Regions from separate parts of the Homo sapiens genome. Here region 1 is linked to region 2. The links are contacts of gene promoters, found by promoter capture Hi-C in human tissues and cell types (Jung and others, 2019). All regions are on one chromosome and are shown on one strand. Each heading gives the region's core, a stretch centred on a gene start or on the middle of the fragment in contact. The rest is flanking DNA. Distances are from core to core; before and after follow the strand shown. Region 1 overlaps PTPRS (protein tyrosine phosphatase receptor type S). Region 2 holds the start of PRR22 (proline rich 22).

Region 1 (2,701 bases), core at 54-2,553, 470 kb after region 2:
TTTTTTTTTTTTTTGAGACGGAGTCTCGCTGTGTCTCCCAGGCTGGAATGCAGTGGCGCACGATCTCGGCTCACTGCAAGCTCCGCCTCCCGGGTTCACGCCATTCTCCTGCCTCAGCCTCCCCAGTAGCTGGGACTACAGGTGCCTGCCACCCCGCCCGGCTAATTTTTTGTATTTTTAGTAGAGACGGGGTTTCACCATGTTAGCCAGGATGGTCTCGATCTCCTGACCTCGTGATCCACCCACCTCAGCCTCCCAAAGTGCTGGGATTACAGGCGTGAGCCACCGCACCCGGCCCAAGGGATGCACATTTCAATATTCACTCCCTCTCGCCCAGTTACCCTGCAGAGAGCATCTGCCATCTCCACCCCAGCCGCCAGCCAGGGAGCTCGGGTCTCCCCTGAACAGCTTTGATGAGACAGGAATGTTCTTTTTCTTTCCTTGGCTGCTCCCAAGATACTTATATCCCCACCCCCAGCCTCCACCCAGGGGATGGTTTCAGGTCTAAAATTTTCCTTCAGACCCCAAGGAAAGCTTCTGTGTGTTCAGAAAACAACCGTCGTGTCCTTTCTGGGCCCAGGACCCTGCTGGGGGCCTAGAGCTCCATCACTGGATACTTATTGAGCACCTCCTATATACCAGGCCCTGATCCTCACAGGGTCAGGTGTTGGGAACAGAGTGACGGAGAAGACAGAGGGAAAAACCCTTCCCTCGTGGAATGCATCAGAAGGACAATGAACAAATAGGGGCCGGGCGCAGTGGCTCAGCCTATAATCCCAGCACTTTAGGAGGCCAAGACGGGCAGATCGCCTGAGGTCAGGAGTTCGAGACCAGCCTGGCCAACATGGTGAAATCTCATCTCTACTAAAAATACAAAAGGCTGGGCACAGTGGCTCATGCCTGTAATCCCAGCACTTCGGGAGGCCGAGTCAGGTGGATCACGAGGTCAGGAGATCGAGACCATCCTGGCCAACAGGGTAAAACCCCGTCTCTACTTAAATAAAAAAAATTAGCTGGGCGTGGTGGCATGCACCTATAGTCCCAGCTACTCGGGAGGCTGAGGCAGGGGAATCGCTTGAACCAGGGAGGCAGAGGTTGCAGTGAGATCACGCCACTGCACGCCAGTCTGGAGACAAAGTGAGACTTGGTTTCATAATAATAATAATAAATAAAAATACAAAAATTAGCCGGGTGTGGTGGTACAAGCCTATAGTCCCAGCTACTCAGGAGGCTGAGGTGGGAGGATCACTTGAGCTGAGGAGTTCAAGGCTGCAGTGAGCTGAGATTGCGTCACTGCACTCCAGCCTGGGTGACAGAGTGAGACCCTGCCTCAAAAAACAAAAACAAGAAACACCCAAAAAACAAAAGCCATAAAGCCAATAGATTAAATATGTGTTAAGGATTGACTGTATGCCATGCCTTTAAGAAAAATAAAGTTGGCCAGGCGCAGTGGCTCATGCCTGCAATTTTAGCACTTTGGGAGGCCGAGGTGGGCAGATCACTTGAGGTCAGGAGTTTGAAACCAGCCTGGCCAACATGGTGAAACCCTGTCTCTACTAAAAATACAAAAATTAGCTGGGTATGGTGGTGGGCGCCTGTAATCCCAGCTACTCGGTAGGCTGAGGCAGGAGAATTGCTTGAACGGGGGAAGCGGAGGTTGTAGTGAGCCGAGATTGCGCCACTGCAGTCCAGCCTGGGTGATAGAGTAAGACTCCATCTCAAAAAAAAAAAAAAAAAGAAAAGAAAAAAGCTAGAGGAATTGGTTGGTGGCAGGGAGGGGCTGTTTTAGCTACAGAATCAAGACAGGCCTCACAGAAGAGGTGACATTTCAGTAAGACCAACAGGAATAAGAGAATGATGTTTGCTGACATCTGAGGGGAGGGTGTTCCAGGCAGAGGGCACAGCCCGTGCAAAGGCCCTGAGGCAGGACCGCACCTGGCATGTTGGAGGAACAGCGAGGAGGCCTGTGTGGCTGGAGCAGAGTGAGGAGGGGGAGGAGGGGAGGGGAGAGCAGGGAGAGGACAGAGCAGGTTGTGCAGGCCCTTGTGGGGCACCAGGAGGACTTGGGCGTTTACTCTGAGGGAGGTGGGAGCCAGGGAGGGCTATGGGCAAAGGAGGAACCAGCCCTGACCGACGTGTTCACAGGCGACCCCTGGCTGTTGCAGAAAGGACAGACTGTGGGGGATGAGTGCAGACGCTGGGGGACCAGAGCAGAGGGGACGGCACAGATCCAGGCCAGGGATGATGGGGGTGGACCAGGCAGGGGCAGAGGAGGGGTTGTATTCTAGAAGGATTTTGCAGAAGGGTTGGCTGGCTTCTCCAAGTGGTTGGCTGCAGGGTAGGGTTGAGATGAGTCAAGAACGACTCCCAGGCCTCTGTCCTGAACATCGGTAAAGACGGAGAAGATGAGCTGAGGTGGCGAAGATGGTGAGAGAGGCAGGCATGGAAACGCCCCCATTAGCAGGACGCCTGCGGAGGTTCCCAGGAAGTGGTGGGCTGGTTCTCCCTGGAGACATGGAGTTGGCAGCTCCTGACTTAGCCCATAGCGGGTTTTCAGGTGCTACAAGCAAGCCATTGGCTCTGGACAAGGCACATCCTATCCTCAGCCTCAGTTTCCCCATCTGAGATAAATAACTGGCACAACAAAACGAGTTAATATGCGTCAAGCACTTAGAGAGTGGCCTGCATAGACAGGGCCCTG
Region 2 (2,700 bases), core at 35-2,534:
AACAGTGAGCCGAGATCTTACCACTGCACCCCAGCCTGGGCGACAGAGCCAGACTCCGTCTCAGAAAAAACAAAAGAAAGTCCTGTGCTTTGAAGGTTGTGTGCATGCAGCTGGGAGGCTTACTAGGCTTGTAGGTTTTGTGGTCTGGGCTCCGGCTCAGGCCAGGCCATGGAAGCAGAGGCCACACGATCCCAGGCAGGCTGGTGGCTGGGCCCACTGATCGTCACCCGTCCCACAGTGGCGCCCTGCTCAAGCCGTGGCTCTTCACGGAGATCAAGGAGCAGCGGCACTGGGACATCTCGTCGTCCGAGCGCCTGGACATCCTGCGGGACTTCACCAACTACGGCCTGGAGCACTGGGGCTCGGACACGCAGGGCGTGGAGAAGACCCGGCGCTTTCTGCTCGAGTGGCTGTCCTTCCTGTGCCGGTGGGCACCGGGGCTGGCTGGGGTGGGCGGCGCGTGGGCCGCGGCTGGTTAGAGCTGACTCAAGCCTGTCCTGCCCGCCCACCCGCCGCAGGTACGTGCCCGTGGGGCTGCTGGAGCGGCTCCCACAGAGGATCAACGAGCGGCCGCCCTACTACCTGGGCCGCGACTACCTGGAGACGCTGATGGCCAGCCAGAAGGCAGCCGACTGGATCCGCATCAGGTGCCTGGGTGGGCTGGAGTTGGGGAGCTGCAGTCGGGGGCCCGGGGTCACGGAGGGTACTTTGCAGGTCCTGGGCCTGACCTCGCTTTCCACCTGCTCTCCCACAGCGAGATGCTCCTTGGGCCAGTGCCCCCCAGCTTCGCCTTCTTGCCGAAGCACAAGGCCAACGCGTACAAGTAGCCTCAGGCTTTCCCAGGGGCACCCTGGGGCGAGGAGAGTACAATAAATTTTATTCTTTTAAAATCCAGGCCTTTCTGTGACCCTGAAGCAGCCCCTCCTCGGCCCCCACCTTCCCCAAACCTCTTAGCTGCCTCCATGGGCCCTGCCCCAAGCTGGGTGCTGCTGGTGCCCAGAGAGGCCTTGACCCCCAAGAAGGTAGCGGGTTGAGGACCCGGGGGGCCTCAGCCTGTGTGGGTGTGGATCAGGGCAGCCTGCCTGGAGGAGGCGGCCTCAAAGCTGTTAGGGGGGTGTTGCTGGAAGAGGCAAAGGCCTGGCCCAGAATCCTCCCTCCCATGGTGATGACCATGTCTGCCAACGTCTGCCCCTGCTTGCCCCCAACACCCAGAACCCCAACCAGTGGGCGCGCTGCAGGCTGGAACCCGCTGCCCCGAGTAACCAGGCAAACAGAACCCCACCAGGTTCTCAGCCTGTTCTCCGGTTGGGCCACTTGCACTCCCACTGCCGCCCTCCTGGCCTGTCTGGACCGGGCCCCCCGCTGCCCCATGCAGCACCCCAAACCGTTCTGTGCCCCTGCAGCTCCCCAGGAAGGTTTCAGCCCGCAGAGTCTGGAGGGGGCTGAGGTGCTGGGCAACCAGCCTGCTCCCACCTGTGCCGAGCCTCCTCCCGCTATGGGTACGATCGGGTGGGTGGGAGCACCTGCTGGAGAGGGTTCAGGGGCCCACCCGCCTAAGGGCCCTACCCACCTGGGCACCTTTGTCCACAGGCTCCTTGAACCTGTATCATCCCCCAGACCCAGAGAAAGAGGTGTTTCCAGCCCCACCAGCAGGTACCGGCCTCCCCTGAGCCCTTGACGAGGCTGGGAGTGGGTTTGAGTGTGCAGGCCCATCTTGCCCCTGCCCCGTCCCTAAGTGGGAGCCTGAAGGCATGGCCTCTGCTCCCCATGCTTCACACAGGTCCCCCAGATGAGCCCCAAAGACAAGCTCTGTGTCATCCATCACCCAGCCAGGGCCCCAAAGCAATATCTATGTCGTCCCCCAAAGGGGCCCCCCAATGGCAAGGTTCTTGTGGCATCTCCCAAACAGGCCCCCAGGCTTGGGCTGGGCCCCTCAGGCAGCAGCTGCTCTCAGGGCACCCGCCTGCCGCCCACAGGTTTCCAGATGGCCCCATGCGGGTGCTTCTTCGACCCCCGCATCTATCGGATCGAGTGGACCACCCCCGACCTGGGCCAGTCAGCCCTGTATAAGCTGGCAGCAAGCAGCGGGGGGCCAGCGGGGGTCCCCTCCGCCCCAGGCAGCTACCTCCTGGAGCCTCAGCCCTACCTCAAGGCCCCGGGGCTGCCTCCATACCCCCACTACCAGCAGGCACCCGGGGGGCCCCAGTTTCTCTTGCCCTACTTCCCGCCTGAGGGCCCCGGGCCAGAGGCTCTGGGTTTTGTGGGGGACGCAGGGCCCGCCGCCTTCGTGGAGCTGCCCCTACCGCCCCTAGAGGAAGGCCCGGCCCCGCTGCCACCCCCACCCCCCAAGGAGAACAAGCCGCCCCCTGTACTCATCACGCTGCCTGCAGAGCCCACACTGCCCCCAGACGCCTACAGCCACCTCCAGGGTCACCTCGGCCACTTCCCTGGGCCCGAACCCCTGGCCTTCCCCGTCAAGGAGCTGCAGGGCAGTGGGGCCCGACCTGGGGTGCCCCTGTACCCACCGGGCCTCAGCGAGCTCAAGGTGGCCGAGGTCAAGGAGGGGGCCCTGCTGGGAGCAGGCAAGGCCAAGGCCCCCAAGACGGCCAGAGCTTTGGCACTGCCTGACAAGGTTCTGCTGGAGGACGCCATGAAGCTCTTCGACTGCCTGCCAGGCGCCTCTGAGCCTGAGGGTACCCT

The links. The method cuts DNA at HindIII sites, captures the fragments that hold promoters and counts their contacts. A contact is called where the count stands out against the background at its distance.
Region 1: a contact is called between a fragment that was not itself captured here and the fragment with the promoter of PRR22 in region 2, in 1 of the 25 tissues and cell types used here (dorsolateral prefrontal cortex).

The regions. Positions count from the first base shown.
Region 1 is chr19:5,309,355-5,312,055 of GRCh38, reverse strand. The region is part of intron 1 of PTPRS (protein tyrosine phosphatase receptor type S); the gene reads left to right. Among named protein-coding and RNA genes, the nearest start is that of PTPRS, 30 kb to the left of the region's middle. The HindIII fragment of the contact is 5,079 bases long and covers 1-2,701 here.
Region 2 is chr19:5,783,330-5,786,029 of GRCh38, reverse strand. It overlaps PRR22 (proline rich 22), which reads left to right and starts at 1,284. Exons shown (of 3, transcript NM_001134316.2): 1 at 1,284-1,499; 2 at 1,591-1,653; 3 at 1,977-2,700. The coding sequence starts at 1,370. DUS3L (dihydrouridine synthase 3 like) reads left to right here. Exons shown (of 13, transcript NM_020175.3): 11 at 239-427; 12 at 519-647; 13 at 755-890. The coding sequence ends at 827. The HindIII fragment of the contact is 36,623 bases long and covers 1-2,700 here.